Linked DNA regions of Homo sapiens: region 1 is linked to region 2. The links are contacts of gene promoters, found by promoter capture Hi-C in human tissues and cell types (Jung and others, 2019). All regions are on one chromosome and are shown on one strand. The core of a region is centred on a gene start or on the middle of the fragment in contact, and the rest is flanking DNA. Distances in the headings are between cores, read along the strand shown.

Region 1 (6,664 bases), core at 2,476-4,975, 700 kb after region 2:
GTGAGCTGAGATCGTGCCACTGCACTCCAGCCTGGGTGACAGAGCGAGACTCCGTCAAAAAAAAAAAAAAAAGTGGGTAGGGCAAGAGATCATTAAGCTCCCTCTCTCACAGTCCAGGCCCACTGATTTTCGGGGGAGACAAAATGAGGAAGTCACAGTAGGATGCAAAGTCATTTAAAACAGAATTCTCAAAACATTAAAATAGATGCCCTAGCTCCAAGGAGTCCCTTTTGGCCTCATTAAGGAACAGTTAAAGATCTGATCACATCTTTGAACTGGGGACTCCTGAATCCCGTGACCACTGAGAATGAAGACATTTGCTCATCTCACATGTCTTTTCCATTTCTCTCTACTAGGATTTATTGTGTTGTAAAAGGCTTGGTGCGAGGCAGAGGGAGAGTTTATCCAAATCCTTTGAGAAATCAGAGAATGTGGTAAATCCTGATTCTCATTTTGCTCTATTGTTTATGACCTCCAGATCTCTGGTGAGGAAGACAGGATCTACAGCTGGTCTCCATTTCTTACTAGCTGGTTTAGTCTTAAGTTCATGGCCGCTTGCCCAGGCTGTGCCAGCTGAGTGTGCTTTAGATAGCAGCATCTGAAATGGATAATTATGCATCAAAGCCAGCCTACCTTACCTCTCCTAAAGGAACCTGATGTCTCACTTCCTTTCTCCAAGATCATGGCATACACCTGTTTATACAGAATTGTGTCCATTGCAGGCAAGTTCTGTCCATGTTTGGCTAAAAGAGGAGGCAATGTCGTCACATCCCCAGGGAAGCTTTTCTCATCTACCCCTTAAAGATTAGGTCAGGCCCCTTGTTAAAGCTTTCAAAGAATCCCACACATCCCTATCACAGCAGTCAGCACACTTGTCATCATTTAAATAATTTGTTATAATTTGATTAATGTCCGTATTTCCTTGTGGTTCTCAATAGGGACAATTTTGTCCCCAGGGAACATTTGCAATGTCTAAAGATATCTTTGGTTGTCACAACTGGAGGGAGGCAGGATGGAGGGATGTTTTTGGCATTTAGTGGATAGAGATCAGGGATTCTGCTAAACATTTTAAAATGTACAAGACTAGGCCAGGCACAGTGGCTCATGCCTATAATCCCAGCACTTTGGGAGGCCGAGGTGGGTGGATCACCTGAGGCCAGGAGTTTGAGACCAGCCTGGCCAACAAGGTAAAACCCCACCTCTACTAAAAATACGGAAATCAGCCAGGCATGGTGGCATGAACCTGTAATCCCAGCTACTCAGGAGACTGAGGCAGAAGAACTGCTTAAACCTGGGAGACACAGGTGGCAGTGAGCCGAAATGGTGCCATTGCACTCCAGCCTGGGCGACAAGACAGAAACTCCGTCTCCAAAAAAAAAAAAAAAAGAAAAAGAAAGAAAAGATAGAATGTATAAGACAGCCCCCAGAAGAAAGAATGAGCCATCCAAGATGTCCACAGTGTTGAGAAACCCTACTGCAGATTGTGCATTCCACAAGAAGAGGGATTATATCTTTTTGTTTGCCACTGAACCCAGTCCTCACACAGAGTCTGTGACGGAAAAGGTATTTGGTGCGTAGATGATGACTGACACCTGCCTATTCTGTCCTCTGGGCCTGGGATAGCATCAGATTACATTTTGTTTCCCAAGGGCTGAAACCATTTTACATATAGTAAGCAAATGATTCCAAATGAATGAATACTTTGTAAATGAATGAACGAATGAGTCCATCCATCCATTCATTCATCCATCCATTCATCCATCCATTCATCCATGACCCAAATGGGCCCTCATGCCAAGAATACATCAATAGTAGTCGTCTGACACCAGCTTTGGTTTTACCACTACCCAGCTAAGTGATCTTATGAATTTGGCATGTATTTGTCTAGATCAGCATTGTCCAGTAGAACATCCTACAATTATGGAAATGTTATATATCTGTGTAGTCCAAAACAGAAGCCACTAGCCATAGTTACTAATGGACTCTCAAAATATGGCTAGTGTGACTAATTCATTTAATTTAAATAGCCACATGTGGCTAGTAGCTACTGTATTAGCACAGGTCTAGACCTTTTAGAAGATTTTTACATTCAAGATCATATTACATATATTATACCCATGTAAAATAGTTTTGTTGCATGAGTTTTTATACAAATATATGTTTCACAGGTTCTGTAACTTGGCTGTTTCACTCATTCTGCTTTCGACATCTGTCCTGTTAGATCTAGCTCATTTCTTTTATCTACTGCATAGTGCTTTGTGGTATGACTATTTTATGTTTTGGTAGCCATTCTCCTACTGATGGATATTTTGGCTGTTTCAGGTTTTTTTTGTTGTTGTTGTTACAAACAATGCTGCAATGAACATCTCTGTATTGTCTCCTTAGAGGTCTTAGTCCATTTTCTGTTGCTATAACAGGATATCACAGTCTGGGTAATTTATAAAGAAAAAAACTATTTAGCTTACAGTTCTGGAGGCTGGGAAGTTTAAGAGCATGGCTCTAGCCTCTGGTGATGCCTTCTTGCTTCTTCATAACATGGTAGAGGGCATCACATGGCAAGAAGAGAAGAGTGTGTGTGTGTGCTCAGATCTTTCTTCCTCTTCTTTTTTTTTTTTTGAGACAGAGTCTCGCCCTGTCACCCAGGCTGGAGTGCAGTGGCGCAATCTTGGCTCACTGCAAGCTCTGCCCACTGAGTTCATGCCATTCTCCTGCCTCAGCCTCTTGAGTAGCTGGGAATACAGGCACCTGCCACTACGCCCAGCTAATTTTTTGTATGTTTAGTAGAGACGGGGTTTCACCATGTTAGCCAGGATGGTTTTGATCTCCTGACCTCATGATCCACCCGCCTTTGCCTCCCAAAGTCCTGGGGTTACAGGCGGTGTGAGCCACCGTGCCCGGCCTCTTCCTCTTCTTATAAAACCACCAGTCCCACTCTGGGGACCCCACCAAGATAATCTTATCTAATCTTAACTACCTCACTAAAGCCCCAATCAACATGCAAATTTGGATTAAATTTTGAACACCTGAAATTTGGGGGACACAGTCAAACCATAGCATTAGGCTCCTCCTTGTTAGCTCTTAAGAGGGAAATTACATCACAGTATATGCATAAGTGTAATTTTATTAGTTCTGCCAGGAGAGTGCCATAATTTGTAAAACAAGGATTCAGTGATTTCTAAGGTTTCTTCCTCCAGCATAAAACCCAATTCTTCTGGAACAATAGAGGTGAGAGACTGACTTTAAACTTTTGGCAATCATCTAGTCTATGCTGTGCTCAGTCAGATGCAATGGAAACAGATAATATCCAGGGTCATATGTTCCCAGTTGTCCCCTCTCTGGGTCCCTGGGAAGAGAAAGCTCTATAAAACATCAGATCAAATTTTCTTTTAATCCTCTAAGTAATAAAGTGGATAAAAGTTTCTGGCAGTGGAAAACTCCAATTATTTAATTACATTAAAATAAATCTGTCACTAAACTTGGAAACCCAAGCTTTGCTTGCCCAGATAGCAAAAAAGTAAAAAGGTTTCCATGCTGCACAGTTTTTCTAACTTCCCCCATGTGGTTGTGACTTAGAGTCATTTTACCCATTCACACCTGCTGTTACCCAGTTGTTAATATCAATGCAATTAATAATAATTGTAAGAGAAACTATCTAATTCCAGCAAATACCTCATTTCTACTAGTTTGAATGTGTCAGTTGTCTTGGGGCAGGAACCACAATTCAGTATTTTAGAATATACACATATGCAGGCAAATATATATTCTACTCTTTAGAAATTAAGTTTACAATAGACCTTGATATTTTGTCCATTACTCATGTTCACATGATTTAAATCTTAGGAGAGGGCTTTAATCCACTTATCTGGGTGGGGAAATATTGTTAGAAAAATGTGGGCTTGGCTGGGTGCTGTGGCTCTTGCCTGTAACCCCAGCACTTTGGGAGGCCGAGGTGGGCGGATCACTTGAGGCCAGGAGTTCGAGACCAGCCTGGCCAACATGGCGAAACCCCATCTCTACTAAAAATACAAAAATTAGCCAGGCATGGTGGCACGTGCCTGTAATCCTAGCTACTCGGGAGGCTGAGGTGAGATAACTGCTTAAACCTGGGAGGTGGAGATTGCAGTGAGTCGAGATCATGCCACTGCACTCCAGCCTGGGCGACAGAGCGAGACTCTGACTCAAAAAAAAAAAAAAAAAAAGAATAAAAAAAAATGTGGGCTTTTCTATCACCTATTTAATTGCAGATACTTGTTACTGAGTGTTGATTCTATACTGACATTAACTAACCTCCAGGTATTAGGATTAAGTTTGCTAAAAACAAAACTTCCGAACAAAACAGAAAGATCTAGTGTTTTCCCTCCCATTACAGATTTGCTTATTATGAAAACTTTGGAAATTATAGAAAAGCAGAAGGAAGAATAAAAGGATGATCACTATTACTATTTTGGTGTAGTTCCTTCCCATTTTTTCTTCTTCTTCGTCTTCATCTCCATCTCTGTCTCCTCCTCCTCCTTCTCCTTCTTCTCTTTTTTTTTTTTTTTTTGAGACAGTTTTGCTCTGTTGTTCAGGCTGGAGTAATCACTGCTCATTGCAGCCTCCACCTCCTGGGCTCAAGTGATCCTCCCACCTCAGCCTCCTGAGTAGCTGGGACTACAGGAGTGTGCCACCATGCCTAGCATGAAAATAATTTTTTTTTTATTTTTGAAGAGACAGGGTCTCCCTATGTTGTCCAGGCTGGTCTTGAACTCCTGGGCTTAAGCGATCCTCCCGCTTCAGCCTCCCAAAATGCTGGGATTCCAGGTATGAGCCACTATACCCAGACCCATTTTTTCTTCAGAAAATCTTTTATATTTTGAGATTTTTTTTTTTGAGATGGAGTTTCGCTCTTGTCGCCCAGGCTGGAGTGCAATGACGCGATCTCAGCTCACTGCAACCTCTATCTTCTGGGTTCAAGCGATTCTCCTGCCTCAGCCTCCCGAGTAGCTGGGATTACAGGCATGTGCCACCACACCCAGCTAATTTTTGTATGTTTAGTAGAGATGGGGTTTCACCATGTTGGCTGGTCTCAAACTCCTGACCTCAGGTGATCCACCTGCCTCGGCCTCCCAAAGTGCTGGGATTACAGGCATGAGCCATTGCACCCGGCCTCAAGAAATTTTTAAAATACAGAAAAGCACAAAGACTTTTTAAAAAAATCACACCCATATTTTCACCATCTAGAAATAATCATTAACATTTTGTCATATTTGCTACCAGTGTTTTATTTGTTTCTACCTTTGTAAAACAAAAAACAAAACAAAAAAGCCCTGAAATATTGCAGATAAATCCAAAGACAGATTTAACCACCATCCCCTACAATGAGGCTGAAATTTTTACTTCCATTTCTAAAAAAAAAAGTATGTATAGAGTGTATATATGTACATAAATCATAAACATTCATATAAAGATATACATATATATATATATATTTTTTTTTTTTTTTTTGAGACGGAGTCTTGCTCTGTTGCCCAGGCTGGAGTGCAGTAGCGCAATCTCGGGTCACTGCACCTCTGCCTCCTGGGTTCAAGCAATTCTCCTGCCTCAGCCTCCTGAGTAGCTGGGATTACAGGCGCCCACCACCACACCCAGCTAATTTTTGTATTTTTAGTAGAGACAGGGTTTCGCCATGTTGGCCAGGCTTGTCTCAAGCTCCTGACCTCAGGTGATCCACCCGCCTCAGCCTCCCAAACTGCTGGGATTACAGGCATGAGCCACAAGGTACATATATTTTATATAAAACAGTATGTAGTATTCTTTTGAGTGTTTTTTTTAATTACCCATATTTATAGGTTTGTTTTTTGATATGGGGTCTCACTATGCTGTCCAGGCTGTACACAAACCCCTGGGCTCAAGCAACTCTCCTGCCTCAACCTCCTGAGGACTGGGACTAAGGTTAGCACCACCATGCCCAGCTTATATAGCTGTTGTTTCAATATATAGTGATCATATAGAGTTGTTTAGATGTATAATATATTGATAGTATACCTGTTGTTTTGCATCTTAATGTCCCTCTTGAGGAATGGGAATCCTGAGCTGTATAGGAGAATAAAACTTCAGTCCTCTCATCTGTAAGATGATAATAATAGTAATGTGATATTGTGAAATATGTGTTTGGTCTTCATCCAATTTGCTGACATACAACTCCTAAAATCCTTCAAAGTGATGTGTGTTTTAGTCTGCTAATAAGTTGACTGGTGACTTGGCAGCCTCTAGGTAGCTTCAGGATGTGAGCTGGTCCCAGAAAGACCCAGGCATGATTAGAGGATTGGGACTTTCAGCCCCACCCTTCAACTTCTGGGGAGGGGTAAGGGGCTGAGGGTTAAGTTGATCGCCAATGTCCAATGGCTTAATCAATCATGCTTATGTAATGAAGCCTCCATAAAAACCCAAAAAGACAGGGTTCAGAGACCTTCTGATTAGCTGGACACATGGAGGTTCCTGGAGGGTGGCACCCCAGAGAGGACATGGAAACTCTGCCCTTTTCCCCATACCTCACCCAATGCATCTCTTCATCTGTATCCTTTGCAATACCCTTTACAATAAACCAGTAAATGTAAACATTTGTTTCCCTGAGTTCTGTGAGCTACTCTAGAAAATTAATCAAACCTGAGGAGGGGGTTGTGAG
Region 2 (6,561 bases), core at 472-2,971:
GAAGGTCGAAATGGGCAAATTGCTTGAGCCCAGGAGTTTGAGACCAGCCTGGGTGACATGGTGAAACGCCATCTCTACAAAAATTAGCCGGGTGTGGTGGCATGCATCTGTAGTCCCAGCTACTTGGGAGGCTGAGGCGGGAGGATCACTTGAGCAGGGGAGGCAGAAGTTGGAGTGAGCCAAGATCACACCACTGCACTTCAGCCCGGGTGACAGTGAGATTCTGTCTCACACACACACACAAGATTTTATTCGGAAGGCTGAGGCAGGAGGATCACTTGAGGCCAGGAGTTTGAGACAAGTCTGGGCAACATAGAGACTCCATCTCTAAAAAAAAATTTTTAGCGTTTTTCCCTCTCAGGCCCTGCATTCCAAAATGACAAAGAAAAGAAGAAACAAGAGTCATGCCAAAAAGGGTAATAGCTATGCGCAGCTTATTCTCGCCCAAGGACCGGACCATTAAGAAGTTTGTCCTTTGGGCCGGGCGCAGTGGCTCACGCCTGTAATCCCAGCACTTTGGGAGGCCCAGGTGGGCAGGTCACTTGAGGTGAGGAGCTCAAGACCAGCCTAGCCAAGAGGGCGAAACCTTGTCTCCACAAAAAATACAAAAATTAGCCGGGCATGCTGGGGCACTCCAGTAATCCCAGCTACTCGGGGGGCTGAGGCCAGATAATTGTTTCAGCCTGGGAGGCAGAGGTTGCAGTGAGCCGAGATCACGCCACTGAACTCCAGCCTAGGCGACAGAGCGAGACCCCATCTCAAAAAATAAAATAAAAATAAAGGTCCTGCCCTCAAAAACATTGTCCTGTGTCTGCGGCATGACTTTCAGACAACATGGTTTTTCAACGTCCCACCAGGATTTATGTAGGTGAAAACCTGTTTCCGATAATCTGAATCTCAAATCCATTCTGTTTTACATATAAAAACAGTTTGGCGGAGGGCATGGTTTTGATAGACCCTGAATTTTCGAGGAATGCATCAACCATGAAAACAGAACACAGATCGAACTTTTACTGGGAACTTTACTAAGTTCACTGAAAAAAAAAATCATATTACCCATAACAACATTTGTAGCTTTACATTCACGATGGATATATATGCGTGTGTACGTCTGTACTTAGGTTTTGTTTGTTTGTTTGTTTTGAGATGGAGTCTCGCTCTGTCGCCCAGGCTGGAGTGCAGTGGTGTGATCTCGGCTCACTGCAACCTCGACCTCCCAGCTTCGAGCGATTCTCCTGCCTCAGCCTCCCGGGTAGCTGGGACTACAGGCGCCCGCCACCACGCCTGGCTAATTTTTGTATGTTTAGTAGAGACGGGGTTTCACCATATCGGACAGGTTGGTCTCAAACTCCTGACCTTGTGATCTGCCCGCCTCGGCCTCCCAGAGTGCTGCGATTACAGGTGTGAGCCACCGCGCCCAGCCTGAATATTGTTTTTCTTATCCATACTTCACTGTAAGCAGATGGAAGCATCTGTCTGCTTCATTATGTCTGCCAGTGTTGAGTACCTGAGTATTTTCATATTGAAATATAGCTTTAATGATACATTACTTCTCTCTTCCTTCTTTACATAGCGGTTAATCATATTGAGCTTCTGAAATTGTGCGCGTGGGCAGATTAGCCATTTTTGGGTTCCCTCTTACCCCCCGGACTAAGCCGGGACGGAAAAAAAATGTGAAGGGGGCGTTCCCGATCGATTTGGCCCCGCCCCATAGTGTGCCCAGAGCCTTCTGCCACACTTAACATGGCGGCGGCGGCGCCCTGCCGAGGCGCCTGAGCGGGTCGCGAGCGTGGTGTTACACTCCAGTCATGGCGGCCCGACAGGCCGTGGGCAGCGGGGCTCAGGAGACATGCGGTCTGGATCGGATTTTGGAGGCATTGAAGCTGCTGCTGAGCCCGGGAGGTGAGAGGACGCATCTCCGCGCCGGGCTGGACCCGGGACTCTCAGGGCCGCCCGGCTTCCGGGGCTGCCCTGCCTTCCGCAGCGTGCGCCCCTTAGGCCCGCCTCGGGACCCTCCGCCCGCTGCTGGGGGCTTTGAGCATTGTCTATGCCCGTCCTCATTACGTTCTTGAGGAAACTGAGGCTCAAGGAGGGCGCGGGATCCGTTGACTGCTGATATTAGCCAACATCTCTTGAGCATTTGCCTTGTGCTGGGCTCTGTCAGGCGGGGCCGTTATTTCATTCAGTGCTTACTGCAGCGCTCTTGGGAGGGGGATATGGACCCAGCTCCAGAGAGGGTAGGGCGCCCGCGACGTAGAAATGTGAGGTCCTAGCCGCGTGAGGGCGCAGGGGCCAGCATGGACCCTTGAGATTTGTACGAAATGCCAAGAAGTCCAGACATCGGAAGCAGTGACGTTTGAAATGGGTTTGGGGAGAGTATTTAGGGGTTACCAGGCGCTTTTAATCTTTGTGGTGCGTGGACAGTTTCTTCCCAGTCTAAAATCTGAAGGGATATTGGGAGTGGTTGAAGCTGCTACTCCTTTTGCGACTGAGGACACCCAAGGCTCACTGAAGAAATTAAGTAACCTGTCCAAGATCACGTGGTCAAATTAGGGGCAGAACACGGACCTAGGCCCGAGATCTACTGAACCCCCTTCTCAGAATCAGACAAATTGTTCAGTATAGGGGCTCTGATGTTATCTGGAGCTTTTGGAAAGGACGTGGAAGATAGAGCTCTGCTTATCACTGGGGTGTATATTTGGGGGAAGGGATGGGAAGGGATCTGTAGAATTAGCAAGGGCACATGAAAGGCCAAAGGGGATCACCTCCCAGTCTCAGATTTTATACTTAAAACTGCAAAAACTTCTGCAAACATTACACCACACCAGCGGGAAGTGAACACAAGTTACTAATATTAGTAAATGAGTGCCTACTAAGTATCAGTCCCCATAGTAGGCTGTTGACATACACATCATTTAATCCTCATTACGATCCCCTGGGATCGGTACTACTTGTATTCAATTTTTACGGATGAAGGACCAAGGTTCAGGTACATTGGAAATTGCCCAATGTCAGACTAGTAAGTGGCAGAATTTGAATTTAGGTTATTTCCACTAAAAGTATGGTAAATATGCTACATTGTCTCAATTAAGAGTCAGACTGCAAAATAGAATTTTAAGTTGCTAATCGAGAGGTCACTTGTCTTCTAACGGCAACTCTTTTTTTTTTTTTTTTTTGAGATGAGGTCTCACTCTGTTGCCCAGGCTGGAGTGCAGTGGCACAATCTCGGCTCACTGCAACCTCTGCCTCCCAGGTTCAAGCGATTCTCCTGCTTCAGCCTCCCGAGTAGCTGGGATTACAGGTGCACACCACCATGCCCAGCTAATTTTTGTCTTTTTAGTAGAGACGGAGTTTTGCCATGTTGGCCAGGCTGGTCTCGAACTCCTGACCTCAAGTGATCTGCCTGCCTTGGCCTCCCAAAGTGCTGGGATTACAGGCCTGAGCCACTACACCTGGCCTGCAACTCTCTATTGTATGACTGAGAACACGTTTAAATAAGCAAAAATCCTGAAAGTAATCATCTGTTATGAAACATGTATATTATGCTTCATTTATAGAAGACTCTCTAATCTCTATGAGTATGTGGTGGAGTACACATATATGTACTCATTTAATTTACAGAAATTCAAGCATTCCTATTTGAAGAGGAATTAGTTCGTGAAATTATATTATTTTGTACATGTAGTCTTATATATTATATGAATCTGTCTACTATTTTATCATATTAGCTGCTTAGGGAATTTAAAAATATCTGTAGTGGCTGGGCGAGGTGGGCCATACCTGTAATCCCAGCACTTTGGGAGGCTGAGGCAGGATCCCAGGAGTTTGAGACCAGACTGGGCAACATAGTGATACTCTGTGTCTACAAAAAACTAAAAAATTGGCCAGGCATGGTACTACACACCTGTGGTCCCAGCTACTGGGGAGGCTGAGATGGGAGGATTGCTTGAGCCTGAGAGGTCCAAGTCTAGGCTGTGGTGAACCATGATTACACTAGTGTGCTCCGGCCTTGGGTGACAGAGTAAGACCCTATTTTGTTTTTTGTTTTTTGTTTTTTTTTTGAGACAGAGTTTCACTCCATCACCCAGGCTGGAGTGCAGTGGCATGATCTTGACACACCGGAACCCCCACCTCCCGGGTTCGAGCAATTCTCATGCCTCAGCCTCCCTTGTAGCTGGGACTATAGGCACCCACCACCATGCCTGGCTAATTTTTGTACTTTTATTATTTTTTGAGATGGAATTTCGCTCTTGTTGCCCAGGCTGGAGTGCAGTGGCGCAATCTCAGCTCACTGCAACCTCCACCTCCCAGGTTCAAGTGATTCTTCTACCTCAGCCTCCCGAGTAGCTGGGATTACAGGCATGCGCCACATGCCCGGCTAATTTTTTGTACTTTTAATAGAGACGGCGTTTCACCATGTTGGCCAGGCGAGTCTCGAACTCCTGACCTCAGGTGATCTGCCTGCCTTGACCTCCCAGAGTACTAGGATTAGGATTACAGGCGCGAGCCACCATGCCCAACCTCAAGAAGTCAGCTGGATTTTCATATCTGCTTCTCCAGTCTGTCATGATAGGTTGTTTTGACTGAAGTACATGAAGAAAACCTAGACTCACATAGATATGTAACTGGAAAAGGGAGGAGAGTTCAATCACCTTTTCAAATAATTATGTACATTCTTTTATACGATTCTTTCTTTTTTTTTTTTAGACGGAGTCTTGCTCTGTCGCCCAAGCTGGAGTGCAGTGGTGCGATCTCGGCTCACTGCAACCTCCGCCTCCCAGGTTCAAGCAATTCTCCTGCCCCAGCCTCCCGAGTAATTGGGACAACAGGCACATGCCACTGTGCCTGGCTAATTTTCTTTTTTTTTTTTTTTTTTTAGTAGAGACAGGTTTTCACCATATTGGCCAGGCTGGTCTGGAACTCATGACTTCGTAATCCTCCCGCCTCGGCCTCCCGAAGTGCTGGGATTACAGATGTGAGCCACCACGTCCGGTCTTTTATACAATTCTAAAGCTCAACAAGATAATCTCTGCATGTATTGTGTGGGGAAAAAAGTATCGAGAAACTCAACAAGAGGTAATACCTTTTTTTTTTTTTTGTGGCGGAGTTTCGCTCTTGTTGCCCAGGATGGAATGCAGTGGCGTGATCTCGGCTCATTGCCACCTCCGCCTCCCGGATTCAAGCGATTCTCCTGCCTCAGCCTTCGGAGTAGCTGGGATTACAGACATGCGCCACCACGCCCTGCTAATTTTGTATTTTTAGTAGAGATGGGGTTTCTCTACGTTGGTCAGGCTGGTCTCGAACTCCTGACTTCAAGTGATCTGCCCACCTCAGCCTCCCAAAGTGCTGGGATTACAGGCGTGAGCCACCGCGCCCGGCCAAAGAGGTAATATATTAAAGATTTGTTGCAATATGAAATCAGAACTCATATCAATAAGCCTCATAGTACATTCTTGAGAATCTAAAAGGCACATCATGACCTAGTATTATTATGAAATGGTTTTGACCTTGCAGACCCCCTGAGAGGGTCTTGGGAACCCCCGGCAAGCCAGGTCCCCATAGCATACTAGGAACTGCTACTTTATGGAAATGCCTCCAATTTATTTCCAAGTAGATGTTATTTTCATCACCAGTAGAGGGCAGAGAAGACTACTTCATTAAAGGGGCTCTGGAAAAACTTCAGTAAGAGCTTTTGTTTTAAATCACTTTCTTTGTGTTCCATGTTTGGGTTCGAAGATCTTATGCCACAGGAAGTCATTTAGAGGTTGGTTAGTGATCTTAACGGTTAGTGGCAACAAGAGGGAAATAACACTCATTTCCGTTTGAGGTATACATTAGCCAAAGGAACCAGATATTCATGCCAGTGGGTCAGAACACTTGTCCTGGAAAGTCCTAGAAGAATATTGCAGGCTGAGCGCGGTAGCTCACACCTGTAATCCTAGCACTTTGGGAGGCCATGGCGGGTGGATCTCCCGAGGTCAGGAGTTCGAGACCAGCCTGGCCAACATGGCGAAACCCCGTCTCTACTAAAAATACAAAAATTAGCTGGGCGTGGTGGCATGCGCCGGTAGTCCCAGCTACTCGGGAGGCTGAGGCAGGAGAATCGCTTGAACCCAGGAGGCAGAGGTTGCAGTAAGCTGAGATCGTACCACTGCACTCCAGCCTGGGTGACAGAGTGAGACTCCATCACAAAAAAAAAAAAAAAAAAAACTATTGCAAATTTCTTACACTTCTGTTCTCATTATTTTTGAAGGATGTTATTGTTTCTCTCTCTCTCTCTGTTTCTCTCTCTCTCTTTTAAATAGAGACAGGGTCTCCCTGTGTTGCCCAGCCGGGAGTACAGTGACTATTCACAGAAGTGATCATAGTACACTGCAGCCTCAAACTTCTGGGCTCGGGTGATGCTTCTACCTCAGCCTCCCAGCTAGCTGGGACTACAGGGATGTCACTGTGACAGCTTTCCTTTTATTCTTTTTTAAAAATAGAAGTAATGTTTTTACTTCTATAAAAAATATTATAGCAAAGATTTTTTAAATATAGAGAAACCAAAAAGAAGAAAAT

Evidence for each region. Contacts are between HindIII fragments. The study calls those that stand out against the background at their distance.
Region 1: a contact is called between a fragment that was not itself captured here and the fragment with the promoter of TANGO6 in region 2, in 1 of the 25 tissues and cell types used here (stomach).

What each region holds. Positions count from the first base shown.
Region 1 is chr16:69,537,007-69,543,670 of GRCh38, forward strand. No RefSeq gene overlaps it. Among named protein-coding and RNA genes, the nearest start is that of MIR1538, 26 kb to the right of the region's middle. The HindIII fragment of the contact is 5,842 bases long and covers 805-6,646 here.
Region 2 is chr16:68,841,810-68,848,370 of GRCh38, forward strand. It overlaps TANGO6 (transport and golgi organization 6 homolog), which reads left to right and starts at 1,722. Exons shown (of 18, transcript NM_024562.2): 1 at 1,722-1,902. The coding sequence starts at 1,809. RefSeq lists an enhancer at 1,693-1,962. The HindIII fragment of the contact is 20,381 bases long and covers 1-6,561 here.